Linked DNA regions of Homo sapiens: all the other regions are linked to region 1. Evidence: promoter capture Hi-C in 16 types of primary human blood cells and fetal thymus (Javierre and others, 2016). All regions are on one chromosome and are shown on one strand. The core of a region is centred on a gene start or on the middle of the fragment in contact, and the rest is flanking DNA. Distances in the headings are between cores, read along the strand shown.

What was found. The method cuts DNA at HindIII sites, captures the fragments that hold promoters and counts their contacts. A CHiCAGO score of 5 or more calls a contact.
Region 2: a fragment that was not itself captured here is called in contact with the fragment with the promoter of ACAD11 in region 1 in 5 of 17 cell types (total B cells, total CD4 T cells, M1 macrophages and 2 more); the score reaches 7.8 in total B cells.
Region 3: a contact is called between a fragment that was not itself captured here and the fragment with the promoter of ACAD11 in region 1, in 6 of 17 cell types (naive CD8 T cells, total CD8 T cells, neutrophils and 3 more). The highest score is 6.2, in naive CD8 T cells.
Region 4: a contact is called between a fragment that was not itself captured here and the fragment with the promoter of ACAD11 in region 1, in 4 of 17 cell types (M1 macrophages, total B cells, erythroblasts and 1 more). The highest score is 7.7, in M1 macrophages.
Region 5: a fragment that was not itself captured here is called in contact with the fragment with the promoter of ACAD11 in region 1 in 8 of 17 cell types (non-activated CD4 T cells, naive CD8 T cells, activated CD4 T cells and 5 more); the score reaches 9.1 in non-activated CD4 T cells.
Region 6: the fragment with the promoter of CDV3 here is called in contact with the fragment with the promoter of ACAD11 in region 1 in 13 of 17 cell types (total CD8 T cells, naive CD4 T cells, naive CD8 T cells and 10 more); the score reaches 15.1 in total CD8 T cells.
Region 7: a contact is called between a fragment that was not itself captured here and the fragment with the promoter of ACAD11 in region 1, in 1 of 17 cell types (M1 macrophages). The highest score is 5.2, in M1 macrophages.

What each region holds. Positions count from the first base shown.
Region 1 is chr3:132,658,109-132,662,273 of GRCh38, forward strand. It overlaps ACAD11 (acyl-CoA dehydrogenase family member 11), which reads right to left and starts at 1,701. Exons shown (of 20, transcript NM_032169.5): 1 at 1,495-1,701. The coding sequence starts at 1,643. UBA5 (ubiquitin like modifier activating enzyme 5) reads left to right here and starts at 2,221. Exons shown (of 12, transcript NM_024818.6): 1 at 2,221-2,590. The coding sequence starts at 2,430. The region is part of intron 26 of NPHP3-ACAD11 (NPHP3-ACAD11 readthrough (NMD candidate)); the gene reads right to left. RefSeq lists enhancers at 2,003-2,541, 2,077-2,166, 2,537-2,816. The HindIII fragment of the contact is 2,892 bases long and covers 215-3,106 here.
Region 2 is chr3:133,646,411-133,650,575 of GRCh38, forward strand. It overlaps TOPBP1 (DNA topoisomerase II binding protein 1), which reads right to left. Exons shown (of 28, transcript NM_007027.4): 9 at 3,370-3,533; 10 at 2,973-3,223. Among named protein-coding and RNA genes, the nearest start is that of TOPBP1, 13 kb to the right of the region's middle. The HindIII fragment of the contact is 3,674 bases long and covers 191-3,864 here.
Region 3 is chr3:133,629,892-133,634,056 of GRCh38, forward strand. All of the region lies in intron 14 of TOPBP1 (DNA topoisomerase II binding protein 1), which reads right to left. Among named protein-coding and RNA genes, the nearest start is that of TOPBP1, 30 kb to the right of the region's middle. The HindIII fragment of the contact is 5,525 bases long and covers 1-4,165 here.
Region 4 is chr3:133,611,842-133,616,006 of GRCh38, forward strand. It overlaps TOPBP1 (DNA topoisomerase II binding protein 1), which reads right to left. Exons shown (of 28, transcript NM_007027.4): 24 at 548-711. Among named protein-coding and RNA genes, the nearest start is that of CDV3, 40 kb to the left of the region's middle. The HindIII fragment of the contact is 1,009 bases long and covers 1,861-2,869 here.
Region 5 is chr3:133,591,160-133,595,324 of GRCh38, forward strand. No RefSeq gene overlaps it. Among named protein-coding and RNA genes, the nearest start is that of CDV3, 20 kb to the left of the region's middle. The HindIII fragment of the contact is 4,028 bases long and covers 265-4,165 here.
Region 6 is chr3:133,570,771-133,574,935 of GRCh38, forward strand. It overlaps CDV3 (CDV3 homolog), which reads left to right and starts at 2,916. Exons shown (of 5, transcript NM_017548.5): 1 at 2,916-3,514. The coding sequence starts at 3,275. RefSeq lists enhancers at 1,905-2,144, 2,087-2,588, 2,245-2,414 and silencers at 2,795-3,334, 3,355-3,464, 3,495-3,884. The HindIII fragment of the contact is 11,859 bases long and covers 1-4,165 here.
Region 7 is chr3:133,511,475-133,515,639 of GRCh38, forward strand. No RefSeq gene overlaps it. Among named protein-coding and RNA genes, the nearest start is that of BFSP2-AS1, 22 kb to the left of the region's middle. The HindIII fragment of the contact is 7,656 bases long and covers 1-4,165 here.

The DNA.
Region 1 (4,165 bases), core at 451-2,950:
TGCCTCGGCCTCCCAAAGTGCTGGGATTACAAGTGTGAGTCACTGCACCTGGCCAAAACACACATTTTCAAAATATAAAGATTGATTCTTTTGAGTTTCTGAGACTTCCTTCATGGCCTATGTGTTTTCAATTTTTATAAACTTTTTCATGTGTCCTAGAAATGAATGTGTGTTCTCTGTGGGATCCAGAGTTCCATATATATTTATTAAACCAAGCTTATACAACATTTCTGGAAGCAATTTTTATACCACAACTAATTTACAACTAATTTCATTTTTTGAACACGGTTATGGTTTAACATTCAGCTTGGTTCAGAATTAAGTATCTTTCAGTTATGTACCTCTTCAACACTCCTACAATATGAACGTTACTATCTCCTTTTTGCCAAAGCAGGACTAGATGTTCAAAGGGTAACTTGTCCAAATTCCACAGCAATTGAAATAGTTGAAATTTGAACTTTGATCTGTTTCAGTTTGTTACAACACAAGGCTTCTAGCCTAGAAATCTCAGCTATTCTTTATTCCACCTTTCCCTTCATCTTCCAATATCTATTGGGACATGGGACCTTTAAATTCTACACCCTAAAATGTTCCCTGATCCATCTCATTTATTATTATTTTCATTTTCACCAAAATCAGTAGTCAAAGAATATAAATGCTAGTGATAAAATACCACTAGCACACTATGTTGTTGCAATTTTTACGCCCTTTCACCTATATTACGGTATTTCATTTCATTAATAAGACTAATCAAAATAGGTATTACAACTTAGGAAACTAGTTCTCAGAGTGTTTATGTAACATATTTAAACTCCCAGACAGCAAGTGACAGATCCAGTTTTCTGAATGATAGGACTCTTTCTGTAGCCCTGTATTAGTAACAATGTTATTTTTAGAATAAAGTTTTAAGAATGTATTATCTATTGTAAAACATCAGACTAAAGCCAGATTCCCGGTGGGGAACGCTACTCTCAGGATCCTCTCACTCAGTTCCATTACCTCACTTCAAAAAACCTGAGGCCCAAAGTGGTGCTGTGACCTCCTAAGTGGAAAAGCTAGTACTCGAATTCGGATCCTCCATCTGGTGTCATTAACTCAGCCTCCCGGAATACGGCCAATCAAACGGAATTACACCAGCTTCTCAGAAAAAGATCTAATGGCTGTATCACAAAAGAAGGCATCTATTTCTCAGAATTTGTAGCCTTAATTGCCTTGGTGAATCCTCAAGGGACATAAATCCATCCTTTAACAAAGATTCCTTTGGATAGTAGAATGGTGAACGTTATTGCGCTTCCATTACCGCCCTCCAATTGGGAAGCCCCCAGCATCGAATTCGGAGGGCCGGCAATAGCAGCTCATGCCTGTAGGGTGCGTCCACTGACTGCAGGAAAAGCAATCAGGGTGGGAGAAACTTAGGAAACCACCCAGGGCCAAAGGAAGGAAAACTCAATGTACAAATTTTTTTCCGCTGGAGGCAAAGGCTGACATCCATACCTGTACTGGGCAATGGTCAGCGTAGCCTCACGTTCGGCCCCAAAGCCAGACAAGTGCTGGTTTAGGTAGGCCTCCAGGGACTTGCTGTCGAACTTGTGCTGGGGCAGCACTTCGGCCAAATCGGACTCGCCAGTAGCACCTGGCTTCATGATCACCCCCGCAGGCCACAGCAACGCGGCATCCACAGGTCTCGAGTGCCGAAGTCCTTCAGGATTGGGGCAACGTCCCCTCTAGAGCATGGGCCGAGGCCGGGGTGGGGTCTGGCTCCAGCCAACCGCACACAGCCTACGCGCCGTTGCTGAGCAACGCTTGCCCGCTGAATCCCGAGGTTTTAGCTCTAGTCAAGTGCCAAAAGAGCCCAATGTGTGTTCGGGTTTCAATTCTCCAGTCAGCGTCAGAGTTGGAGGCCTCAATTTTAAAGAAGGCAAAGCCATGGTCATCGTTGCGGGTAAGGAACAACGCAGAAGCCTCTTCCACCCCCAAATTTAATGCAACAGCAGGCGGAAGACCTGCAGGGTCCCGTTCAGAAAAAGGGCCGTCAGACTGTCGAGCCTAAGAATAAAAAGACCCTGTTTCTCTTAGATACCCGGTTAGCAAGGCAACATCGCTGGCCTCCTGCCCTGGACACTTATCACCCCGGTGCTGCTGCGGCCGGGTTTAGCCGGCCCAGCGAGGAAGGAAGCCGAAAGAGCCAGGTTTTTGATGAGGGGGAGCGATGTCTGCGACGCACCGGAAGCGGCTCCGAGGAAGGCCTGTGGGAGTCTCGGAGACGTGTCTGTCTGTGAGGCGCTGGGTGCACGTCCCCAGGGCTCTGGGCTAGGAAGGCAGCGGCGAGGTGCCTCCCCACGTACCCCTCGCGGGCCCAGCCGAGCAACGTGGGGCGAAGGCGGCGGCGAAGGCCCGGGCTGGGAGCGTTGGCGGCCGGAGTCCCAGCCATGGCGGAGTCTGTGGAGCGCCTGCAGCAGCGGGTCCAGGAGCTGGAGCGGGAACTTGCCCAGGAGAGGAGTCTGCAGGTCCCGAGGAGCGGCGACGGAGGGGGCGGCCGGGTCCGCATCGAGAAGATGAGCTCAGAGGTGGTGGATTCGAATCCCTACAGGTAACCTGCGTCGCCGGTCGGAGGCAGGCGCGGGGGACGAGGTCAGGCTCCGTGAGGTCAGAAGTGAGGCGCTTCCCACGTCCCGCTCATGGGGACGCCCGCCACCCTTTTCTTGGTCTGCGAATCCTGTTCCCAAATGGGCAAGGCCACATCTTAGTACTGATCGGAAGATATTCTTTCTCTTTTTTAAAAACCTCCAGTGAGTCAGCCATATGGTGCTGCTCCTGTGCCTGCTGAGGACGTGTGTCCAGTTTCCTATCACCCTTGCCTCTTAATTAGTCCGCCTCGCTGTGTATAAGACTGATAGTAAGAACTTTCAGAAGATGAGATCAAATATTAAACCTGCTAAGGTAAACTTTGAGTTTCATTAAAGGCTTATCAATGCATCTTAAATGGGGTCGGGGCGGGGGAGAGCGGGGTTAGCTCTATTCTGAGATATTCGGGTGCTCCTTAACATCTCAAACCATTCGACATTACCAAGACTGCCCAGGCCTCTCTTTTCTTCTTTCCTAACAAAGCTTATCAATTCAGCAGATGGAATATAGTGCAATGGTTAAGGGTAAGGACTCTACCGCCAGACTGATTGCAATTCAAATCTAACTACTCTCTTCGTAACTGCCTAACCTTTGGCAAGTTGTGAAACTTTCCGCTTCAGCTTCTCACCTGTACAATGAAGATAATAGTAATATCTATCTCTGTCATAGTTGTGGGGATTGAAAAAATCAGTATGTATAAAGGTCTTAGAGTAGCGCTTGTACATGGCAAGCCTTATACAAGATTTTATTGCTAGGTGCATTTAGTAGCAAGCAGTTATTGAGCTTTCACTGTGTAAGCACTTTACATGCATTGTCTCCTCCCACCAAAACCCTATGAGATTGCTACTATTTTACCCCCATTATATAAGTGAGAAAATTGAGGCTTAGAGAGCCACCTCAGGTTCATGCCTTGGTAGTAAATAATAAGGCCTGTCTTGCATTAGATTTGTCTTAATGTAAAATTCTCATGAACCGTCTCCCCAGTAAAAACAATTAAGTCGTGTAGCTAAAAATTGTATAGTGTTAAAGTAGATAAGGAAGATTTTATTGTTGCTTTTTTCCTTTAAAGAGCATAACAGTTTTGATTTTTAAAAAAGGTTTTAGTTTGTGATATATAAAGCCGCAGTAGAAGTCTTAGGGTGCACTGTTTTAACTGTGTTGCCAAATATGAACGGTTAATGGTCCAGAATTTTTAGAGATTAAATAAGCATGAACTGACATCTCTAATCAGAATAAGTGGAAACTATTTGACATTTTTAAAACATTTTAAAATTTTACAAATGAAGACTTTGAAATTTTCCCTCCAGAATGAAAAGCAGAGGAATATGGGTCATGAATTTAAGTTGTCTTTCAGACATTATTTAATATGAGATGATCCCTTGACATTGTAATTATAACAAAACTTTCAGAACTCAAGTCTAAATATGTAGTATTTTCTATCTGATTTGCACCATTGACTTTATTAAAATTGCTATACAGGAGATGGCAGTTTGATACCCAAAGCTGTTCACTGATATATGGAATTTTAATAAAGTTCAGC
Region 2 (4,165 bases), core at 778-3,277, 990 kb after region 1:
GAGGCTAAGACAGGAGGATCACATGAGGCCAGGAGTTTGAGACCAACCTGGCCAACATGGTGAAACCCCATCTCTACTAAAAATACAAAAATTAGCTGGGCGTGGTGGTGCACACCTGTACTCCCAACTACTAAGGAGGCTGAGGGAAGAGAATTGCGTGAACTCGGGAGGAGGAGGTTGCAGTGATCCAAGCTTGTGACACTACACTCCATCCTCAGTGATGGAGTGAGACCCTGTCTCCAAAAAAAAAAAAAAAAATCACTTTCAGTTATACCACAGCATCCTGGAAAATCAAGATGATTTCCTGATGTGATACAATACTAAAGCATAAGTAAATGGTTTGAGAAAAGTCAATTTTGTAGTACGGAAATAGTGTAAATAAAAAAGGAATGCTAGGAATTCCCTCTCTAGAAATATGGTGGGCTAGGATCTTTGAAACACTCTCACTAAAAACACTTCAAAATACAGGATAAAATATTAAAATCCAGACCACTAAAGTGGTTACTAAATCCAGAACATTAAGTAGTTACTAAAGCTAATGGTTAGTCAAAATCTATTAAATATCTGTGCAGTAACCCAGACCCTTGGAATGTAAAGGTATCACACAAGAGATAGGAGCCAATCCTTTGGTTTCATAAAACTTAGAGGTGAAGGAGAGTATACCCTGAGAGAACAAGCCCAGAACCCATGAAGAGACATATCTTTAGTAAACAGACCAAAACTAACCAACCAACCAACAACAAATCTGCCCTGTAAAGGAAGAGGTCAAGAACACTGGCTTTGTGTCAAGGGGAAACAACATCTCTCCTAAGAATCTGTTCATCAGAGGCTGGTCCTCAAAGTAGGTTTGGGTATAAATTCATATAGCTGGAGGTCTAAGAAACCTCCAGCCAATACACCAACTTAAAGGCATATTGAGTTTGTAAACTCCTAGGCACCTAGCAGACCCAAACATGAACCTTTTCTGGGGTAACAAACCCCTACCCCAAGTTTCTTAGAATTCCTAGAGTCCTAGTAAGTACAAGTTCACAATAAAAATCACAAAACACAAGAAAACCAGGCACCATAAACAACAGCCAACAGAACAATTCACAGATGTTTTGATAGGTTTAATGTGTTTTAAGAAATAAAGAACAAAAAATACAAATACAAAATGACAGACTTGGCTGGGTGTGGTGGCTCACACCTGCAATCCCAGCACTTTGGGAGGCTGAGGTGCTTCAAGACCAGCCTGGGTAACATAGTAGCACCCCATCTCTATTTTTAAAAGTAAAAAAATAAATGACAGACTATTTAAAAAGCTAAAACTTCTAGGAATTGAAAAATTAATTATTAAAACAGAAAATTTAATGGATGGGTAAAACAGATTAGGCAATAGCGGAAGAGATGATTCGTGATCTGGAAAAAAATCTGAAGGAATTACACATAATAAATCACAGAAAGACAAAAAGATGGAAGATAAGGACAGGTTAAGTGACCTATATGCAAAGCAAATGGGAGTTAAGAGAATATAGAGAATGGGGGAGAGGCAATATTCAAAGAGATAATAAACATTTCTTGACCTAACAAAAAGCAAAAAATCTACTAATTCTCAGATTCAGAAGGCACAGTGAATCTCAAGCAGGACAAATAAATGGTAAAGCTCTAGGACACAAAAACCAAAAGGAAGACTATCTTAAAAACAGCCAGAGGATAAAGACAGATTATCTGTAAAGGAATGACAGACTGATATCTGACCTCCTATCCAGCAGTCAGGGAAATAGATGACAATGAAACAATATCTCTGTGCTTAAAGAAACTGTCTAGAACTGTATACCCAGCCGAAGAGTCTTAGAGAAACTAAAGGAGTTTCTAAAGGATATTGTTTTAGGAAGAAAGAAAATGATTCCAAAAGAGAGGTCTCAGATGTAAAAAGAACTGGGGAGAGCAAAGAAACAGTTAAACGTGTTAGTAAATGAAACAAATACTGACCATATAAAAGCATAATAACGCCTAATTGTAAGATGTTAAAAGATAATGAAAATACTAGACAAAATCACATAAGCTGAGTATGTTGATGAGTGGAGAGAGGGAGCAGGGCTAGTTGTGATCATTAAAGTATTTTAGGCTGGGCTCAGTGGCTCACGCCCGTAATCCCAGCACTTTGGGAGGCCAAGGCGGGTGGATCACCTGAGGTCGGGAGTTCAAGACCAGCCTGGCCAACACTGAGAAACCCCATCTCTACTAAAAATACAAAATTAGCCAGGGGTGGTGGCGCATGCCTGTAATCCCAGCTACTTGGGAGGCTGAGGCAGAAAGAATCACTTGAACCTGGGAGGCAGAGGTTGCAGTGAGCTGAGATCATGCCACTACACTCCAGCCTGCGCAACAAGAGCGAAATCCTGCTTCAAAAAAAAAAAAAGTTTTCTAAGGTTCTTGTTTTATTCGAGGTAGATTAAAATTCTGATTAACTTCAGATTTTAAGTTATGATACACATTAAATTTACTTAAATGTATATATTTTTGGCTATATTAGGTATTTTATAAAGGCTTTTTTTTAATAAAAAAGAAGTAATGATGTTTATAATGCTTCACTGGCAATTTACCTTACTACATGATAAGAGTACATACTGAGGTGGTAGTCCACAGTACAGTTTCATGCATTAAAGACCACAATAATCCAGTAAGAGGTATTTGTTACAAGGTTTTAATAAAAGGCTCATGATATTACAAACTCACACACAAACCAAGCAATGCCTGTATATATAACAAATCAAAATAGAGCTAGTTAGCTGGAGACAGGAGAGAGGGTTAAAGGGTTCAGGACCCTCTTGTCTTGCCTGCTCAGAAAAAAAGTTATGAGGAAAATTTTAAGGAAAGAAAAAGGTTAATTTAACTTAAAATCTAGAAAACTTGGCAGAAATCACATATGTACGTATTAGGCTACTAAAATATTTCTTACTAACTACAAATACTAATCAAGCATTTCTTACCTACTGTGGAGCTACCATTTTCATATTGAGAGAGCAGATCTTCATCAGCTTGCTCATGCTTTTCACTAGGAGCAAAGTCTTTCTTAGAGAAGCTGCTGTTCTTCTTTTTTAAAAGAGCTGCTTTACTTTCAGGCTTATGTGAAACTGGAATTTCCACTGGCTGGTAATTAGCATGGATATATGGTTCTTCAGAAAGCATATAACCTTTACTGAAACACTCTAGCAACCACTTTGCTCCCACTACATGAGGCCTACAAAAATAGCACATAGTTATGTATTAGTGCAAGCTATAAAGACCATCATCCCACTTGTCATGCAGTTTCCAGAACTGCGTGGATATGCAATTTTAAGAAAAATTATGTAGTAGAAATTGCTTTGAATTAAAAACGAAAAAAACCTGTGGGCTGATTTATTCCAAAACTGCTTCAATTCATCATCATAATCTCCCACAATAACATGAGTTACATCTTCATTTAGCTGGTTAAAACGAACTCCACCTCCACTGTTAATAAGTCTTCTCAGTTTATCTAGCTTTCTGCCACTAAAACCGCAAAGATATATCTGCAAGAAAGAAAATATTTAATATACATAACATGCTTTCTCTCAATAGAAAAAAACTAAAAATATATATCTAAATCCACTGTGTATAAATAAGACAACTTGTGTACATTTAAGATATATGAATAAATACATTCTGAAACTTTTGATTTTTTAACAGTTCTGCAACTTTGAGTTTTTAATCACTCTTTACAATCTCATACAGCATTATCTTTCACAGTAGATACTTGATAAGTATTTTGTGGCTATAAAGAAAATAGAAGCCAGAGTCCAACATCTTCTAAATATTAGTGCATACCAATTCCTAAAATGCAGGTAACTTCTTTAACTGTGAAGCTTACTTGTAAATTTTAAAGTAATTATAAAAGTAAACTGTAGTTAACTGTCTGAATTCTGAACACCTGGGCTTAAATTGTGTGTGTGTGGGGGGCGGGGGGAGGGGTTGTTTTTTCCAGCTGCCTATGATTAACGACAATAGGCAAGTTGCTTACGCTCTTTAAATCAATTTTCTTACCTATAAATTGATGTTACCTTACTCACAGAGTTGACTGAACAAAAAATATATATAAGTCAAAGAACTGAACACAATGCTTTGAGGATAACATGTATGCAGTAATTTATTTTTAGCTATCAGT
Region 3 (4,165 bases), core at 950-3,449, 970 kb after region 1:
TTCTCCTGCCTCAGCCTCCCGAGTAGCTGGGACTACAGGCATGCACCACCATGCCTGGCTAATTTTTCGTATTTTTAGTAGAGACAGGGTTTCACCATGTTGCTCAAGCTGATCTCAAACTCCTGACCTCATCATCCAACCGCCTTTGACTCCCAAAGTGCTGGGATAACAGGCGTGAGCCACCGCGCCTGGCTATATGTATATTTATATCTAATTTTTTGTGATAACTATCTGCTCCTATCCTTTGCCCATTTTTCTACTGGGTTGTTAGTCTTTTTTTTAATATATTCGCTTGTATGAATATACTTTTATATTCATTTGTATGAATTTATATGTGCATGTATCAACTGTGATATAATACCCACGTATTTATTTTCAATTTATCATTTGTCAAATTTTTGCCATGGAGCTTTTTTTTTTTTTCAGAGATGGAGTCCTGCTTTGTCACCCAAGCTGGAGTACAGTGGCATGATTATAGGTCACTGTAACTTCTAACTCCTGGATTCAAGGATCCTCTCACCTCAGCCTCCCAGGTAGCTGGGACTCCAGATGCACAACCCTGTGCTCAGCTAATTTTAAAATTTTTCATAGAGACAGGGTCTTGCCGTCTTTCCCAGGCTGGTCTCAAACTCCTAGGCTCAAGCAATCCTCTCGCCTTGGCCTCCCAAAGTGCTGGGATTACAGGTGTGAGTCACGGTGACTCGCTGTAATTTTTTTGTTTTTTGAGACGGGGTCTTGCTCTCTTGCCCAGAACGGACTGAAGTGGCTCAATCTTAGTTCACTGCAACCTCTGCCTCCAGGGCTCAAGCAATCCTCCCTTGTCAGCTGGGACTATAGGTATGTGCCATCACACCCAGTTAGAGAATTTTTAATGCTGTCAAATTCATACGAATCTTCTATTTCTTTTGGAGTGTATGTTATAGTTAGGCCTTCCCCACACTAGGATTATTTTAGAAACAAATTCATGACATGTTTGGGAATTTTTATGGCTTCATTTCTTATGTTTAAATCTGATCATCTAGGCTGGGTGTGGTTGTTCACGCTTGTAATTCCAACACTTTGGGAGGCCAAGGCAGAACTGCCTGAGCCCAGGAGTTCTAGACCAGCCTGAGCAACATGGTGAGACTCTACCTCTCCAAAAAATACAATTAGCTGGGCACAGTGTCATGTACCTCTAGTCTGAGTTACTCCAGAGGCTGAGGTGGGAGGACTGCTTGAGCCCAGGAGGTCAAAGCTGCAGTGAGCCACGATGATGCCACTGAACTCCAGCCTAAGTGATAAAGTGAGATCCTATTTCAAGAAAAACCCCAAAAGTTGATCATCTAAAAAGTATTCTGATGTAAAGTGTGAGCTTTAATTACAAACGTATTTTCAGATGGCTACCTAATTGTCCAATTTGAATGCCACCTTTATTACATAATAAATTCCCCTATTTGTGGAGTATAATCTTATACACTAACTTGATTATTCACGTGACACCACACTGTTTTAACTACTGCAACTTTATAGGAGGTTTTAATAAACGGTAGGGCTACTGCCTACCTGCAATTATACTTTTCAGATTTTTTTTAATATTGTTTCTGCTTGCATTTTTTTCTAGGACCTACATTACCTTTTGATATGGTTTGGATTTGTGTCCCCACTCAAATCTCATGTTGAACTGTAATCCCCAATGATGGAGGAGGAGCCTGGTGGCAGTTGACTGGATTATGGGGGCGGATTTCCCCCTTGCTGTTCTTGTGATAATGAGTGAGTTCTCATGATATCTGGTTTGAGATGGAGTCTCACTCTGTTGCCCGGGCTGTGGCGCGACCTTGGTGCAATGCAATCTCTGCCTCCTGGTTCAAGTGATTCTCTTGCCTCAGTCTCTCGAGTAGCTGGGATTACAGGCATATGCCATCACACCCGGCTCATTTTTATATTTTTAGTAGAGATGGGGTTTCGCCATATTGGCCAGGCTGGTCTTGAACTCCTGACCTCAGGTGATCCACCCACCTTGGCCTCCCAAAGTGCTGGGATTACAGGCGTGAGCCACTGCGCCTGGCTGATATCCAGTTGTTTAAAAGTGTGTGGCATCTCCCCCCGCTATCTTTTCCTCCTTCTCCAGCCATGAAAGACGTGCTCACTTCCCCTTCATTTTCGACCGTGATTGTAATTTTCCTGAGGCCTCCCCAGTGGTGCTTCCTGTACAGCCTGTGGAACTGAGTCAATTAAACCTCTTTTCTTTATAAAGTTGGACGTGGTGGCTCGCGCCTGTAATCCCAGCATTTTGGGAGGCTGAGGTGGGTGGATCACTTGAGGTCAGGAGTTTGAGACCAGCCTGCCCAACACAGTGAAACCCCGTCTCTACTGAAAATACAAAAATTAGCCGGGTGTGGGGGTAGGCGCCTGTAATCCCAGTTACTTGGGAAGCTGAGGCAGCAGAATTGCTTGAACCCAGGAGGCGGAGGTTGCAGTGAGCCGAGATCATGCCACCGCACTTCAGCCTGGGTGACAAGAGCAAGACTCCATCTCAAAATAAAAAAATAAAAATAAGAATAAATTACTCGGTCTGGGGTAGTTCTTTATAGCAATGTGCAAACAGATTAATACACCTTTATAGATCTTGACAATGTTTAAATCTATTTTGCAAGAACATGGTAAGTCTTTCTATATGCTAAACTTTTTAAAATTTCTTCAAAGCATTTTAGAGGATTCCTTATATAAAAATCAGAAGCTCCCATACCACATCTATCTGCCTTCAGCACACGTGCCACTAGTACCTTCCTCTACTTAAGAAGTAGATCCCAATGCCTCTCAGACTCAAGCCTCCTGCAAGTCTTCCTTCTCTCATCTGCATCATCAATTGGCTCTCTAATGGCAGTTACACTGGCATATAGTTATTTCTTCTTCTTTTTTTGAGACAGGGTCTCAGTTTGTCACCCAGGCTGGAGTACAGCGGCATGATCACTGCCCACTGCGTCCTCTATCTCCTGGACTCAAGCAATCCTCCTGCCTCCGCCTACCAACTAGCTGGGGCTACAGACGTGCACCACCACACCCAGCTAATTTTTGTGTATTTTGTAGAGACAGGGTCTTGCCATGTTGCCCAGATTTGTCTTGAAATCCTGGACTCAAGTGATCCTCCCGTCTTGGGCTCCCAAAGTGCTGGGATTATGGGCATGCACCACTGAGCCTGGCTATTTCTTCCACCTTAAAAAGAAAACAACCTTCTTTTGACCCTACTTTGCCCCATAACTACAACTCCATTTCTTGGCTCCCCTTTATGGCAAGATTCCTTCAAAAATCGTTGTTTACACTCAATGTCTCCGATTCTTCTCATTTCTTTATGAACCCACACCAGCTTCCACCTCCATCATGCCACCAAAACCCTTATTGTTATGATGACGCCATTGACCTTCATAATGCTCAATCCACTGGCCAATTTTCTATTCTCACCTTTCTTTATCTTAGAGCAGTCCTGGACATAGTTAACCCCTCCTCCCTCTTTGAAATACTTGGCTCTTTGAAATAAGCTCTAGGCTTTCCTCTTCTCTTATAGCTCCTTCTCAGTCTCCTTTGCTGGTTCCTCCTCTAAAGGTGAGCACCTCAAGGTGTTGCTTAGAGCTCTTTTCTTTGGCTGGACGTGGTGGCTCACACCTATAACCCCAACACTTTGGGAGGCCAAGGCAGGAGGATTGCTCAAGTCCAGGAATTTAAGGCCAGTCTGAGCAATGTGGTAAGATCCCCGTATCTACAAAAAAATTAAAAATTAGCCAGGTGTGGTGACATGCACCTGAAGTCCTAGTTGCTTTGAAGGCAGAGGTGGAAGTATTGCTTGAGTCCAGAGGTCAAGGCTATAATGGGCTGTGATCATGCCACTACACTCCAGCCTGGACGACACAGCGAGACCTTGTCTTAAACACAACAAAACAAAACAAAACCTTTTTCCTTTCTTTGCCTTCTCCTACTCTCTTGGCATCTATTCTCACATGGCTTTACACATTACCTACAAACTCAGAACCCCAAATTTTTATCTCCAGCCCAAACCATTCCTCAAACTTCCAGCGTTATTTGCAACTGCCTATTTAACAACTACTTGGATATCTAATAGGCATCTCAAACTTAATGTGTCTAACATGTGAACTCTAGATCTTTAGGCTCCAATCCCAACCTGTTCTGTTCA
Region 4 (4,165 bases), core at 1,115-3,614, 950 kb after region 1:
TCCTCCCACTTCAGCCTCCTAGGTAGCTGGGACTACAGATGGGAACCACCATGCCCAGCTAACTGTTTTTATTTTTTCTAGAGATGGAGTCTTGCTATGTTTCCCAGGCTGGTCTTGAACTCCTAGGTTCAAGCCATCCTCCTGCCTTGGCCTCCCAAAGTGCTGAAAGTGGCATGAGCCAGCCACTGCCAGCCAACACTTACTTTTTTTTTTTTTTTAGATAGGGTCTCACTCTTGTGGCCCAGGCTGGAGTACAATGGCATGATCTCGGCTCACTGCAACCTCTGCCTTCTGGGTTCAAGTGATTCTCCTGCCTCAGCCTCCTGAGTAACTGGGATTACAGGCACTCACCACCATGCCTGGCTAATCTTTGTAGTTTTAGTAGAGAGGGTTTCACCATGTTGGCCAGGCATGTCTCGAACTCCTGATCTCAGGTGATCCACCCACCTCGGCCTCCCAAAGTGCTAGGATAACAGGTGTGAGCCACTGCACCCGGTGGACACTTGCTTTTAAAGAAAAATAAACTTCCACAAATCTGAATACACACCTGCACGAAGTGTCCAGCAGTCCTGCAGGCTTCAAGGTAGGAGCGATGAAGCACCCACTTCCCAGCTGCCACTGAGGCTAAATACTTCTCGTTTCGAAGTGGATGTCCCACAACAATGTGTGTACAGGTGGGATCAAAGCACTGCTTTTCTATCACCAATCCACCTTAAGCAGAGAAAAATGGATTGTACTTTATTGATTCCCAACTTCTTTCTAGGAAAAATGTAATCTCAACTACGCATAGAAATTATTTATAAATAAAATGCCCCAAACCATTTAAACCAAAAAAACTTGACTTACTTAGAATTATTTTACTTTATATACATATATATATGTATTAAAATGTTTATTATGAACATTTTAAATACAAAAGTAAATAAAATAGTAAAATGAACCCCCACACATATACTAGCTACCTATATTCTAAAATTATCCAAATTCTGCCACCTTTTTTTGCTTAACTACTTAATTTTATTCTGTTTTAATTTTAATTTTTTTGAGACAGGTTCTCACTCTGTCACCCAGACTGGAGTGCAGTGGCATGATCTTGGCTCACCACAACCTCCAGCTCAAGCGATTCTCCTCCCTCAGCCTCGCAAGTAGCTGGGATTACAGGCACACACCACTATGGCCTGGCTAATTTTTGTATTTTTAGTAAACACAGGGTTTCACCATGTTGGCCAGGCTGGTCTTGAACTCCTGACCTCAAATGATCCACCTGCCTCAGCCTCCCGAAGTGCTGGGATTACAGGCGTGAGCCACCATGCCTGGTCCTGCTTAACTATTTTAAAGCAAATTCTAGATACCATGTTACTGACCCCTAAGTATTTCAGTATGCATCTCTAGAATATATGGAAATTTTCTTAAACAGCCATAATGCCATTATCAGATCTAATAGGATTAACAAAGATTCTTTGCTGTCTCAGTACTAAATCCTTGTTCAATTTTTCCTGTTTGTCTTCACTTGGATTGTTATAATTAGGATACAAAAAGAAATAGAACATAAACATGAGCCACACGCTGTAGTTGGTTATGTCTCTTAAGTCTCAATTACAAAAGCAGTTTTCAAGCACCGAATATGGGTAACCAGGGAGATGGAAGTAAGATAGGGGCATCTGCAGACTTTAAAACAGGAGGAAATTTTTTATGAGTGGAAATAATGTCGGCAGACCAACAGAGAAGCTTGGGAAGAAAACACACACAGATAAATAAGAGATGAAGCAGCAGGTGGGAAAAAGCAATAATTGAACCTCTTCTCAGATATAAATGCATGAAGCCTGACTTTGAGGAAAGAAGAAGGCATAAGTAAACATAAGCTTATGTAAAGCATGGCTGTTGATTTATAGCTTAGAGGTTAACTTGACCACTGGTTGGGCAGAGTTAGTTATATCAAGGACTTTTTTTTTTTTTTTTTTTGAGACGGAGTCTCACTCTGTCACCCAGGCTGGAGTGCAGGAGTGCAGTGGCGCGATCTCGACTCACTGCAACCTCTGCTTCCCGGGTTCAAGCAATTCTCTGCCTCAGCCTTCTGAGTAGCTGGGATTACAGGTGCCCGCCACCACACCTGGCTAATTTTTGTATTTTTAGTAGAGACGGGGTTTCACCATGTTTGCCAGGCTGGTCTTGAACTCCTGACCTCATGATCTGCCCACCTCAGCCTCTCAAAGTTCTGGGATTACAGGTGTGAGCCACCACACCCGGTCATATCAAGGACTTTCTAAGATTTTAACAAAACATTCAAACTCATGATTTAAGATGACTCTAATAATAATAGCAGCAACACCTTCTGAGCATTTATTTTATGCCAGGAACTACTTAAAGTGCTCCAGATTACTAACTCATTTAATTCTCACAACCATATGAAGGAAGGTTACTATTATTATCTGCATTTATGCACATGAAAACTGGTAGAGCACCTTACTCAGGATCACAGAGTGACAAAAAGACAAGAAGGTAAAATTCCATATTAATATATAAACATCAATTTCCAATTCTACATAACAAACTTATTCTGCGACCCAGACAACATAATAGACTGATTTATATACATATATATCAGTTGGCCACAGTTGCTTCATTTATAAAATGAAGGATTGGGCATAATATCTATTATAATGTCTCTTTGCATTCTAATATTGGAAAACCTCTAGAGTTACAAGACTCTGAATTCCAACATAATCTGTACTCATCTGCCTCTGCTTCCTGCCCTCTTCTAGATCAATTCTCTGCTAATTGCTGTCACTCTTCCCCAAAGTTTGCAGAGATGGAAAAATCTATAGGAGACTGACACTTGAAGCCTTTCATTTTCATGAGTTCTGGGTAAAGCTTAGCAATTCTGACTTATAACCTCACCTAAGTTATCAGGGAACTGGGAAACAAAGTGTTTTGTATGAGTAAAGTTTCTAAGAAGAAACAGTTTTTCCACACCGGGGCCTGTCCTGGGGTGGGGGGAGGGGGGAGGGATAGCATTAGGAGATATACCTAATGAAAATGACAAGTTAATGGGAGCAGCACACCAACATGGCACATGGATACAAATGTAACAAACCTGTAGGTTGTGCACATGTACCTTAGAACTTAGAGTATAATAATAATAATAAAAAAATAAAAAAAAATAAAGCTGTGAGCTTCACCCGCAAAAAAAAGAGAAAGTTTTTCCAAGTATACAACTGTATTTGACATAAATCTTTTTTTTTTTTTTAAAGCATATCATAGTTTTCCACATTCTTAAAAAGACAGCATTAAATAACATTTAATCTTTTCCTGATACTTCAGGGCCACTATTAAGAACCATTATTTTGGCCAGGTGCGGTGGCTCATGCCTGTAATCCCAGCACTTTGGGAGGCCAAGGTAGGTGGATCATCTGAGGTCAGCAGTTCGAGACCAGCCTGGCCAACATGGTGAAACCCTGTCTTTACTAAAAATACAAAAATACAAAATTAGCCAGGCGTGGTGGCGCACACCTGTAATCCCAGTTACTTGGGAAGCTGAGGCAGAAGAATTGCTTGAGCCCAGGAGGCAGAGGTTGCAGTGAGCTGAGATTGTGCCATGGCACTCAAGCCTGGGAGACAGAGCAAGACTCTGTCTCAAAACAAAAACAAAAAAACCCCACCAATATTTCTTAATGTTTTCTCTTTCCATGCTGAGCTGCCAGATTAACTTCTCTTACTATAGTTTTCCTAACTCTATAGAGCTTTGTTCAACAGAGTAGCCACTAGACATCTGTGGCTATCAAACACCTGAAGCACAGTTAGTCCAAATTGAGATGTGCTGTAAGTTAAATAAACACTAGATTTTTACTTTATATAAAAAAAAACTCACTGATATTTTATCTGATCACATATTGAATGATAAATATATGTTTAAAGTTCATTTCACTTGTTTCATTTTACTTTTTATTTTTGAGATGGGGTCTCACTATGTTGCCAGGCTGGTCTTGAATTCCTAGGCTCAAGCAATCCTCCTACCTCAGCCCCCCAAAGTCTGGGATTACAGGTGTGAGCCAATGCACCCAGCCTCTTTTTAGTTTTTAAAATGCAGCTACTAGAGAATTTAAAATGACCTATGTGGTTCACATTCTGTTTCTATTGGACAGTGCTGCTCTAGTATACCAGATTG
Region 5 (4,165 bases), core at 1,029-3,528, 930 kb after region 1:
ACTCTATCAGTCTTCCCTGCTTTAATTTCTTCTATAGTTTTAACTTTTTAGATAAAAGTCACTCTTTTCAAAAAGAAAAAAAGAGACAGGGTCTTGTGCTGGAGTGCAGTGGCGCAATCATAGTCCCCTGCAGCCTTTAACTCCTGGGATCAAGGAATCCTCCCGCTTCAGCCTGCTGAGTAGCTGGGATTAATGTGTGTGCTACCAAGCACTATTTTGTTTTTTAAGAGATGGGGTCTTGCTATGTTGCCCAGGCTGTTCTCAAGCTTCCTGGTCTCAAGCAGTCCTCCTCTGCGTCCCAAAGTGCTGGAATGTTTTACAGCCACTTTGGGAGCCACTACACCTGGCCAAAAGTCACCTTTTGAAGTGTACAATTTAAGAATTTCTTATATTCTCAAAGTTATGCAACCATCACCACTCTTAAAATTCTTGAACATTTTCATCACCCCAAAAAGAAATTCTATTGTTATTAGTCATCATTTTCTTCTTTCCTCCCAAATTCCTCAGTCCTAGGCAGCCACTATTGTATTGTCTCTAGTTTCTTTTTTCTGTTTTTTTTTTTTTTTTTTTTTTGAGACAGTCTTGCTGTCACCCAGGCTGGAGTGCAGTGGCACATTGTCAGCTCAATGCACCCTCCGCCTCCCGGATTCAAGTGATTCTCCTGCCTCAGCCTCCCCGAGTAGCTGGGATTACAGGCACCCACCACCACGACTGGCTAATTTTTGAATTTTTAATAGAGATGGGGTTTCACCATATTGGCCAGGCTGGTCTCAAACTCCAGACCTCAGGTGATCCACCCGCTTTGGCCTCCCAAAGTGCTGGGATTACAGCTGCATGAGCCACCGTGCCCGGCCTAGATTTTCTCATTCTGGTCATTTCATATAAACAGGGTTATACAATTTGTTTTTCAGAGACTGGCTTCTACACTTGTTTTTGAGCATGTTTTTGAGGCTTAGCATGTATCAGTGCTTCGTTTTTATTGCTAAACAATATAGGTAATTGTATGGGTATACCACGTTTAAATTGTACATTCATCTGTTGGACATTGGGGTTGTTTCATTATTATGAATGATGTTGCTATGAACTTTCATGTACAAGTTTTTGTATCAACATTTCCAATTCTCTTGGGTATATACTTAGAGATGAAAGGCTGTATCACTTTGAGGAACTGCCAAACTCTTCTAAAGTAGCCTCACCATATTATATATTACTATTCCCACCAGCAGTGTCAGAGGATTCCAGTTTCTCCAATATCCTTGTGATCACTTGTTTCAGATTGGTTCTAGTCTTCCGAGTGGGTGTGAAGTATCTCATTATGGTTTTATTTTGCATTCCTATAATGACTAGTGATGTTGAGCATCTTTAAATGTGCTTACTGGCCATCTGTATGTCTTTGGAAAAATGTGTATTCAAATCCTCTGCCAATTTCTAAATTGGTTTACTTATAATTTTATTGTTGAGTTGCAAGTGTTTTAAATTTCAGGTGCTACTTCTTTGTCAGATACATGAATTGTAAACATTTTCTCCTACCATTTTTCCCTTTCTTAGAAGTGTCTTTTGGAGTACAAAATTTTCAATTTTGATGAAGTCCACCTTTTCTATTCTTTAGTTGCTTGTGCTTGGGTGTTATATCTAAGAAAACATTGCCTAACCCAAGTCATAAAGATTTATGCCTATTTTCTTCTAAGAGTTTTATGTTTTTAGCTCTTTCATTTAGGTCTTTGGTCTATTTTAATTTTTTTTATTGTGACTTAGGGCTCCAGCTTCATTCTTCTGCATGTGACTACCAGTTGCTCAGCACCAAGACTCATAGTTTTTGGGGGATTTTTTGGTGGTTGTTTTTGAGACAGCATCACCCAGGCTGGAGTGCAGTAGTGTGATCATAGTTCACCGCAGCCTTGGCCTGGGCTCAAATGATCCTCCCCGCCTCAGCCTCTCAAGTAGCTGGGACTAAAATGCGTGCCACCACACCCAGCTAACTTTTTTTATTTTTAGTAGAGATGAGGTCTTGCTATGTTGCCCAAGCTAATCTCAAAACTCCTGAGCTCAGGTTATCCTCCTACCTCAGCCTCGCGAAGTGCTGGGATTACAGGTGTGAACCACCATGCCTGGCTTGTAGTTCTTACTCTTTATTTAGCACACTAAACATTTTGGTTGTTTATCTCCCTCTGTTAGAATGTGAAATTGGTCTGGGGTAGGTACACGTAGGTGGAGATGTCAGGAGGTTAAGAGTGTGGGGTAGGAATTTAGGACAGGTCATGCTATGGGTGTCTAGACTGACAAAGGAACAAATGAGGTCACGATTTCAAGTTAGGGAGTGCAAACAAATTAATGGAGGTAGTCAGATCAGAAGGAGAGCCAAGAAGTTAGAAAGTCATATGGACAGGTGTTCTAATAACTAGCATCCTGAAACTGCAGGTTTGTAATGGTTTTAATTCACCAGTTACTACAACTAGGTACTAATGGGGCCTGCAGAATGCAGGCAAGTTATGAATTGCTTCTCCTGGGCTTGAAATAAAGATAATGAATATTATGAGTGATATATTGAGTAAGAAATAATTGCTTATTTTATCTTTTTGACACAGTTTCACTCTGTCACCCAGGCTGGAGTGCAGTGACACGATCCCAGCTCACCACAACCTCTGCCTCCCAGGTTCAAACAATTCTTATGCCTCAGGCTCCCCAGTAGCTGGGATTACAGGCGCATGCCACCACGCCCGGCTAATTTTTTTTTTTTTTTTTTGTATTAGTGGAGACAGGGTTTCCCCATGTTGTCCAGGCTGGTCTTGAACTTCTGACCTCAAGTAATCTGCCCACCTCGGCCTCCCAAATTGCTGGGATTACAGGTGTGAGCCATCACACCTGGCCTTAGAAATAATTGCTTTAAATAATCTTATTTGTATTATCTAAAATAGGAATTATGTTCACATCAGGAATTTAGGATATACATAAAAGTAATCATTAAGGCAGTTCAATTCTTTTGAATTTGCAGCCCAAGTGGGAACTAGAATTCTAAATAATTGGATATAGTAATACAGACGATGGGTAGGATTTAAGTCATCCACTTTAAAAGTCTTTTTAATCCCTCAACCTAACTGTTCAGGGATCCAGTCAAAGCATGCCCCAAGAAACCTCTGTAAAATGGTTCATCTCCAAATATGATGGAGAGTAGCACCCAGCCTTCGCAATTTTAATCATAAGAAGTGGAGCAACTCTGTAAGATTATGTCCATGGTTCTCAAACTGCTGCATTTTGGAATAACCTGGGAATCATTAAAAAAAAAAAAAAAAAAAAAAAACTCGCTGGGTGCGGTGGCTCACGCCTGTAATCCCTGCACTTTAGGAGGCCGAGGTGGGCGGATCACCTGAGGTCAGGAGTTCAAGACCAGCCTGGCCAACACAGTGAAACCCCATCTCTACTAAAAATACAAAAATTAGCCGGGCACGGTGGTGGACGCCTGTAGTCCCAGCTACTCAGGAGGCTGAGGCAGGAGAATCACTCGAACCCGGGAGGCGGAGCTTGCAGTGAGCCGAGATGGTACCATTGCACTCCAGCCTGGGCTACAGATCAAGACTCCGTCTCAAAAAAAAAAAAAGTGATGCCCGACTCCCACATCCAGACATTCTGAATTAATTAGTATGGAGTGTGACCCGAGCAGAGGAATGTTTTTTCAAGTCCCATAGTTCTAATGTGCAGCAAAATCTGGGAACCACTGGGTTATGTCAAAAAATGATAAATTATTTCCCTAGTAGGCAGTTGGAAGACAACCATAGGGCTAGCTCAAGCAGGAAATCCCTTAAATTGCATGCTTAGACCAGAAATGATTATCATATTCCTAAATGCATTTTTGGATACTGTTAAATGAGGGAAAGTGGATACTGAAGTTGGAGGGAAAGACTTGTCAACTGAAATAGTAAATTTCTTTGATTTTTTACAAAACTACACATTTTTGTAGTTCAGTAGTTATCAGTATATAAAGACCATTTTTAATATCTTATCTGTCATTTCTTAGATAACTGCCTCATCATCAATGTAACTTCTGTAGCTACTCGTTATCCTTCTCCAACAATACTTCCATGATGTTTGACTTGTCTTTTGACAGCAGATCTGACCATTCCTGAGTTTACTCACTGTAAATGTTAATCTGCCTTACACTACCCCTGGC
Region 6 (4,165 bases), core at 1,666-4,165, 910 kb after region 1:
CAACATAGCAAGATCCCTTTCTCTAAAAATGTAAAAAAAAAAAAAAAAAAATTCAGCTGTACATGATGGCACCTGCCTGTAGTCCCAGCTACTCTGGAGGCTGAAGCCAGAGGATTGCTTGAGCCCCGCCTCTTAAAAAGAAAAAAAGAGAGAGAGGGCAGAAGGATGCTTCAAAGATGAGGGGGTGTCTGGTAACGATGATAATGATAGCATGATTCAGGGCACTGTGCAACCAATCTGGAGAAGGGTGGTAGGGGAGGTTTAAAAGGAGCAACTGATGGGAACAGATGCTGTCAATTTTAGGGCAGGTGATTCAAAGAGGAAGGGACCAGCTTCACAGAGGAGAGAATTACTACAAACAATGACACAACCACAAAGACACTGGTCTCTCTACTGGCCTGACCTGAATTTCTTACACATGATCAAGTTCTGGGATCATGCCATCAATCACACTGAAAAATGTAGTGGGAAATTCTGCAGCGTCAGCCCTCAACTACTGTTCCTTCTGTGTATTTTCTCAAGTCATTAATTCTTTCAAGACAATGATGAATTGATAAGGACTTAAGAAAGATATAAATAACTGAAACTTATTTATATCTAGATCTTCTCTTCTAGATTATAAGGGAATTGAATGCAGGAATCACAAATTACTCACTTTTGAATAAAGCACTTTGCCCGAAATATAGCAAAATAAGTGCTTCATAGATGAGGAAAGAAAGAGAGGGAGAGGGCCGGGCATGGTGGCTCACACCTGTAATTCCAGCACTTTGGGAGGCTGAGGTGGGTGGATCACGAGGGTCAGGAGTTTGAGACCAGCCTGGCCAACATGGTGAAACCCCGTCTCTACTAAAAATACAAAAATTAGCTGGGTGTGGTGGCGGGTGCCTGTAATCCCAGCTACTCAGGAGGCTAAGGCAGGAGAATCGCTTGATCCTGGGAGGCAGAGGTTGCAGCGAGCTGACATGCCATTGCACTCCAGCCTGGTGACAAGAGCAAGACTTTGCCTCAAAAAATAAGTAAGTAAATAAATAAATAAATAAATGAAAGAGAGGGAGGGAGGAAGGAAGAAAGAGGGGGGAGGAAGAAAAGAAGGAAAGAAAAGAGGAAGGGAGAAAAAAGAAGGAAAGAAAAAAAAGAAAGAAAATAAATTTGATTAGCGATGGTAAGGGAGGGTGATGGTGATGGGCAGTACTGAACCTGGCCTGCATCACAGGAAGATATATGTTGTCATAGAAGGAAGTCACCTTGGGAGCTGTTCATGTTTGGGGAATAGTATATGTATAAGCTCAAGCTACTTGCTGGCCAAGGCTAGGTCCTTGATTTCTTTTGACATTCAGAAGTTAGACTTTTTTTTTTTTTTTGAGACGGAGTTTCACTGTTGTTGCCCAGGCTGGATTGCAATGAGGCGATCTCGGCTTACTGCAACCTCCGCACCCCCGGGTTCAAGCAATTCTCCAGCCTCAACCTGTAGCTGGGATTACAGGCGTTAGCCACTACGCCCGGCTAATTTTCGTGTTTTTAGTAGAGACGGGGTTTCATTATTTTGGTGAGGCTGGTCTCGAACTCCTGACCTCAGGTGATGCGCCTGCCTCGGCCTCCTGAAGTGCTGGGATTACAGGCGTGAGCCACCGCGCCCAGCCAGAAGTTAATTCTTTAATAGCAGTGTAAGTAGGGGGTAGGAAAAGAGAAACTTTAATGGGGTAACTGTAAAGGAAAAGACGAAGAAGTCTCTCCATTTACTGGCTGGATTCTATCTACCCCATATGGCTACCAACATTTGTCTGAGTCATTTCCTCAATGGTTGTGACAGCTCCCTCTTCTGCTTTTAGAAGGAGGAAGTAGAAAGTTTAAGAGCTTACTTTAGACCACCTTTTGCATATAGAATTCATTTCATTTTCAAGGCCCCAAGGGTATTTAAATGGGCTTTAAACCCATTTAAACCTGGCTTTCGCCTGGGCATTTTGGTCTCCACCCCTATGATAAGACAGTCCCCTCCTTTTATCAGGGATAGAAGCTAAGGATAAACTGTATCATCATCTAGACTCAAGTCAGGGCGTTAAGCAATGTGCTGAGCAGCTAATAATGTTGACTCTCTTCCCTCCATCCCCCTATCTTGTAAGAAATAGTATACCCACTTTACAGATTAGGGACTTGACGATAGGATTTATTGAACTTGACCTTGGTAAACATAATCCAGAGGGTGGAGTTCAGACAAAATCCCTTTCTACCTACCAACCAGCCTATGAAAGATCTTTTAGTAAATGGGACCTAAACTTCAGGCTCACTGCTCCTCTCACTTTCACAATCAACCGGTAAAGAAGAAAAGTAATGGTTGCCACTCCAGAGGGGGTGGAAGTACAGAAGCGATCAGAGGAGAGGAACAATCTTTAACACAGTTGGCTTAACGCAGTGCCTGTCCGTTTCGCGACAGTTCAAACGACTACTATGGGGCCACGGTTTGTTCTGGGCCAGGAAACACACGTGCATCCTGCGCATGCGTCCAAAAGGAACCCACTGCCCCTCCTGCTGGACCTCTTTAGCCAAGTCATCAACCAGCCCTCAACATGCCCGCCCTCAAGACTAAACCCTCGGCCAATCGGGAAACCGGAGTCGCCCGGCACGTCACTTATTTTGCATATGCCCTCCTCTCCCCGCCCCCATGCTTGGACTCCGCCCCGTCTGGGTCAGGGATTGTCACCTAAGAGCTTCGTCCTGGCACCTGATTGGCTCTCTTTCCAGCTCCGCCTCCATCTCCTCCCGCCGCCCGCCCCTTGGCGATCCCACAGCGGCAGGCAGAGCAAAATACGCAGGCGCAGGCGCTTCCTCTCTCTTCTAGCGGCCCGCCCTCCCTCCTCCCTCTCCCTCCCCTCCCCACTCCCTTCCCCTCCTCTCCAGGCCTGCGCGCGCGCCTCTTCCTCCGGCACGCGCCGCTGCTAGCCGAGCACTCTCGCCAGAACCTCTGGCTCGCGCGTGCCTTTTCCCCTCAGGTTGTGGGGAGAGCGGAATCCTGCTCCGCCGTCGCAGCAGCAGCGGCAGCCCCGGCAGCCTCGGGCGACAGCGGCGGCGCGCGAGCCCCCGGGCGGACCGTACCACCGCTCGCCAGCACGCAGGGGGAGCCGCCCGTCTCGCCGCGCACGCCTCGGCGACCCCGCGGGGCTGAGGCGTCGCCGCGCCCGGCAGCGTGAGCGCAGAGCCGGCCTCGACCCCGAGCTCGGAGCCCCGCGGGCCGCGCCCGCCGCCGGCCCCACCCATCCGGGTCGAGGAGGCCGAGGCCATGGCTGAGACGGAGGAGCGGAGCCTGGACAACTTCTTTGCCAAGAGGGACAAGAAGAAGAAGAAGGAGCGGAGCAACCGGGCGGCGAGTGCCGCGGGCGCAGCGGGCAGCGCCGGCGGAAGCAGTGGAGCCGCGGGTGCGGCGGGCGGCGGGGCGGGCGCGGGGACCCGGCCGGGTGACGGCGGGACCGCCAGCGCGGGGGCTGCGGGCCCAGGGGCCGCCACCAAGGCTGTGACGAAGGTGAGGGGCCGGGAGGCCGGCACTCGGGGCCCGGGCCGCGCGCCGGCGCCCCATGTGCCCGCCCCCGCCTGCCGGGGAAGCGTCCGGGAGGGGCCGCGGAGGCCGGGCGGACGGGCGCGGGCCGCCACGTGACGCAGGCTCTCCACCTCGGGCTGGGCTCGCCAGGGCCGGGACCCCTTCCGATATCCGCGGTGGAGCCGCCCTTCCCACCCCGCGTCGCTCGGCGTTAGCCAAGGCCCGGGCGGCGCCACCCTCCGGGGGCACTAGGTCTGGGGCCGCAGTGCCCAGCACAGAGCAGCGTTTATCGGGTGACGTCTAGGCTGAGTAATTCCGTGTGCTGACCTCAGCCCAGTAGTTTGAGCTGAATTTTCGCTTTCAGCAGCCGCATTTGTAGCAGCTCTTTTGTGATGACTTAGTCTCTAAGCCCGTGAAAGAAAAAGAAAACTCTCGGTGGCAAGGTTGAAGTAGAAATGTAGTTGTGAAATTCCTATTGACTTCTTCCTTCGGCTTTTCTTAGTTGCTTAAAGTAACAGCTCCCATGCAGGAACCCAGCGGAAGTATAGTGTTAGCCTACGAGCATGTTTGTCCTCCATTTAGCCTAGTTTGCCCCAGAACGAAGCAAGGGCTTTGACCAGAAGACAAGTACATACT
Region 7 (4,165 bases), core at 962-3,461, 850 kb after region 1:
TGTGGAGTGAAGGCTATTATTGTAGGAAAGGCCAAATGAATGCCATTTGAGCTGCGTGTACCTAGGAAAATAATACATCAAAGCAATACTGCATCCCTGAGGGGATTGCAGATATTAGTGCCACTGTCAAGGACTTGAAAGATGCAGGTATAATTATTCCCACCACATCTGCATTCAACTCTCCTAATTGTCCTGTGTAGAAGACAGAAGGATCTTGGAGAATGACAATGGATTATCATAAGGTTAACCAAGTGGAAACTCCAGCTGCACCTGCTGTATCAGATGTGGTTTCATTGCTTGAGCAAATCAATACTTCTCCTGGTACCTGGTATGCAGCTCTTGATATGGCAAATGCCTTTTCTCTATACCTGTTCATAAGGTCCACTAGAAGGAGTTTGCTTTCATAAACCAAATAAGCTCATGAACAAAATGGCCATGGTGGCAGGGATGGAGGTTATTCATGGGCTGAACAACATGGACTTCCACTCACCAAGGCCAACCTGGCCATCGCCACTTTGAGACTGAGTACTCAAACTGCCAGCAGCAGAAACCAACACTGAGCCTCTGATATGGCATCATTCCCAGGGATGCTCAGCCAGCTACCCAGTGGCAAGTTGATTAACAGCTTCCAATCATGAAAGGGGCAGTGTTTTTTTCTTATTTCAACAGGCAGTTACTCTAGATATGGTTTTTTTTTTTGTTTTTTTTTTTTTTTTGATACAGATCTCACTCTGTCACCCAGGCTGGAGTGCAGTGGCACGATCTTGGCTCACTGCAAGGTCTGCCTCCTGGGTTCAAATGATTCTCATGCCTCAGCCTCCCAAGTAGCTAGGATTACAGACATACACCACCATGCCTGGCTAATTTTTTATTTTTAGTAGAGATGGGGTTTTGCCATGTTGGCCAGGCTGGTCTCAAACTCCTGACCTCACGTGATCCTCCTGCCTTAGCCTCCCAAAGTGCTGGGATTACAGGTGTGAGCCATGGCACCCAGCCTGGATATGGATTTTTACCTTCTCTGCACATAATTCTTCTGCTGTAACTACCACCTGTAGACTTAAAGAATGTCTTATCTACCATCATGGTATTCCATACAGCATTGCTTTTGACCAAGGAACACACTTCACAGCCAAAGTACAGCAATGGGCTCATGCTCCTGGAATTCACTGGTCTTTCCATGTTCCCTACCATCCTGAAGCAGCTGGCTTGATAGAATGATGGGATGGCCTTTTGAAGACACGGTTATAGTATGATAGGTGATAATACTTCGTAGGGGCAAGATTCTCCAGAAGACTGTATAAGCTCTGAATCAGCATCTAATACACGGTACTGTTTCTCCCATTGCCAGGATGTAGAGGTCCAGGAATCAAGGGGTGGAAATGGGAGTGGCACCACACACCATGACCCCTAATGACCTACTAGCACAATTGTTGCTTCCTTTTCCCATGGCTTTATGCCCGGCTGCCATAGAGGTCTTATTTCCAGAGGGAAGAATGCTTTCACTAGCAGACACAACAATGATTCCATTGAACTGGAAGTTGAGACTCGCACCTAGCCACTTTGGGCTCCGCACACCTCTGAGTCAGGGGAGTTATGGTGTTGGCTGGAGTGATTGATCTGGACTACCAAGGAGAAATTGGACTACTACTCCACAATGGAGGTAAGGAGGTAAGTATTTCTGAAATACAGGCAATTCCTTGGGCCATCTCTTAATATTACCATGCCCTGTGGTTAAGGTCAATGGGGAACTATGATAACCCAATCTAGCCAGGACTATGAATGGCCCAGAGCCTTCAGGAATAAGTTTTGAGTCATCACATTAGGTAAAGAATCAAGCCGAACTGCTTGCTAGAAGCAAAGAGAATACAGGATGGATGGTAGAAGATGATAGTTATAAATACCATCTAAGACCCTATGACCAGTTACAGAAATGAGAGCCGTAATTGCCATGAGTATTTCCTCCCTCTTTTGTCAAATGTGAGCTAGTTTAACAAAAGGAGGAGGTTTGGGCACATACCAGGGTTTCCTGGAACCAGGCAATAGGGTCTCCTGTGGCCTGGGGCCCAGACATATTTATTTTATTTCCTCTCTTATTATTGTATCAGGTAACATAAAATATATTGACTTTATATCAGCAGTTAAGTATCGTTAATTTTACATTATTTAACTTATGGGATATCGGGAGAAGAGTAAACATCACTCAAAGACTTTACCTCCTCTTCTGGGGAAGGAACTGGTGCACTTTTATTGCGTGTAGGATAGTTGTATCATGTTAGGTGGAACTATGGCTTTAAGAAGATGGGTAAATGTGGCTGGGCGTGGTGGCTCACGCCTGTAATCCCAGCACATTGGGAGGCCAAGGGGGGCGGATCACGAGGCAGGAGTTTGAGACCACCTGGCCAGTGTGGTGAAACTCTGTCTCTACTAAAAATACAAAAATTAGCCGGTCGTGGTGGTGCATGCCTGTAGTCCCAGCTACTCAGAAGGCTGAGGCAGAAGAATAGCTTGAACCCAGGAGGCAGAGGTTGCAGTAAGCTGAGATCATGGCACTATACTCCACCCTAGGTGACAGAGCAAGACTCCATCTCAAAAAAAAAAAAAGATGGGTAAGTGTGCCAAGTTGACAAGGTGTGAACTTTTGATGATTAGTTTTAGGTGTTAATGTGACTGGATTAAGGGATACCCAGATAGCCAATAAAGCATTATTTCTGGATCTGTCTGTAAGAATATTTCTGGAAAAGACTGGCACTTGAATCAGTAGACTGAGTAAGGAAGATCAGCCCTCACCCAATGTGCAAGCACCAACCAGTTGGTTGAGGGCCCAAATAGAAAAAAAAGGCAGAGGAAGGACAATTTGCTCTCTCTCTTCTGGAGGTGGGACACCCATCTTCTCCTGCCCTTGGACATCAGAACTCTAGGTTCTCTGGCCTTTGGACTCCAGGCCTTATACCAGCAGCTCCCCAGGTTCTCAGGCCTTCAGCCTCTGACTGAGAGTTACACCATCGGGTCTCCTTGTTCTCAGCCTCTGACTTTAGACGAAGCCATGCTATCAGTTTCTTTGGTTCACCAGCTCACAGATGGCATACCGTGGGACTACTCAGCCTTGTGATGACATAAGCAAATTCCCTCATAAATCCCGTCTCATAGATCTCTATCTAACTCCTACCTACCTATGTACCTATATCCTACTGGTGCTCTGGAGAAGCATGATTAACAGGTGGACACCTGACTCCAGAGGGTCAGTCCGAATTTTTTCTCCCAAGAATGTGGATTTGATCCTAAAATGAATGAGTCAGTTTCTGCTGGTTGCTTCACTCATAGACGGGCCAGCTCAAGATCTGCAAGTGGGCCTTTCCTCCACAGGGGTAGGGAAGTCTAGAAGTCTGCTCTACAGGAGAGGCAGGAACCTGACACGCAGGCAGAGGAGAGATAGATGTCACAGCTTTGAGGAGTCAGAGGAAAGCTCTGCCTTCCTTTCCAGATTCTGTCCAGCTCCGGGTCCCAGGCCTCAGGAGACCCTATTGCCTGGTTCCAGGAAACCTTGGTATGTGCCCAAACCTCCTTCTTTTATTAAACTAGCTCACATTTGACTAGGACCCACGTTGCTCCTCTTATACCCCAAGTGTATCCTTCAAGTCTGAGCACAAATGCCCCCTGCTTGGAGAAGCCCTCACTCACTTTCAGGAAAAGTAAGCCATTTTCTGCCCAAGACCCAAAACTACCAAATTCATCCTATACTACCATATTCACAACATACTACCACAATCACCCTATATGACTACCTTCATGCTATGCTACCACAGCCATCACCCAATGCTACCACACTCACCCTGTGCTGCCAGTCACCCTATGTTACCACATTCATCCTGGACTACCCCAGTCAACTAGACTACCACATTCACCTTATGCTATCACAGTCACCAGTACTACTGCCTCACATTGTACTACCATTCACTCACTACTGCAATCTCCCTGTACTACCACAGTCATCCTACGCCACCACATTCACCTTATGTACCACAGTCACATTGTATTACCCCTCCACTCACTTCCACAGGCACCCTGGACTACCACATTCACACCCTACTATCACAGTTATACTGCCATCACTTCCCTTGGGCCCATGGGCGTTATTTGTCTTATTATTATACTTGTGCCCTCAGAT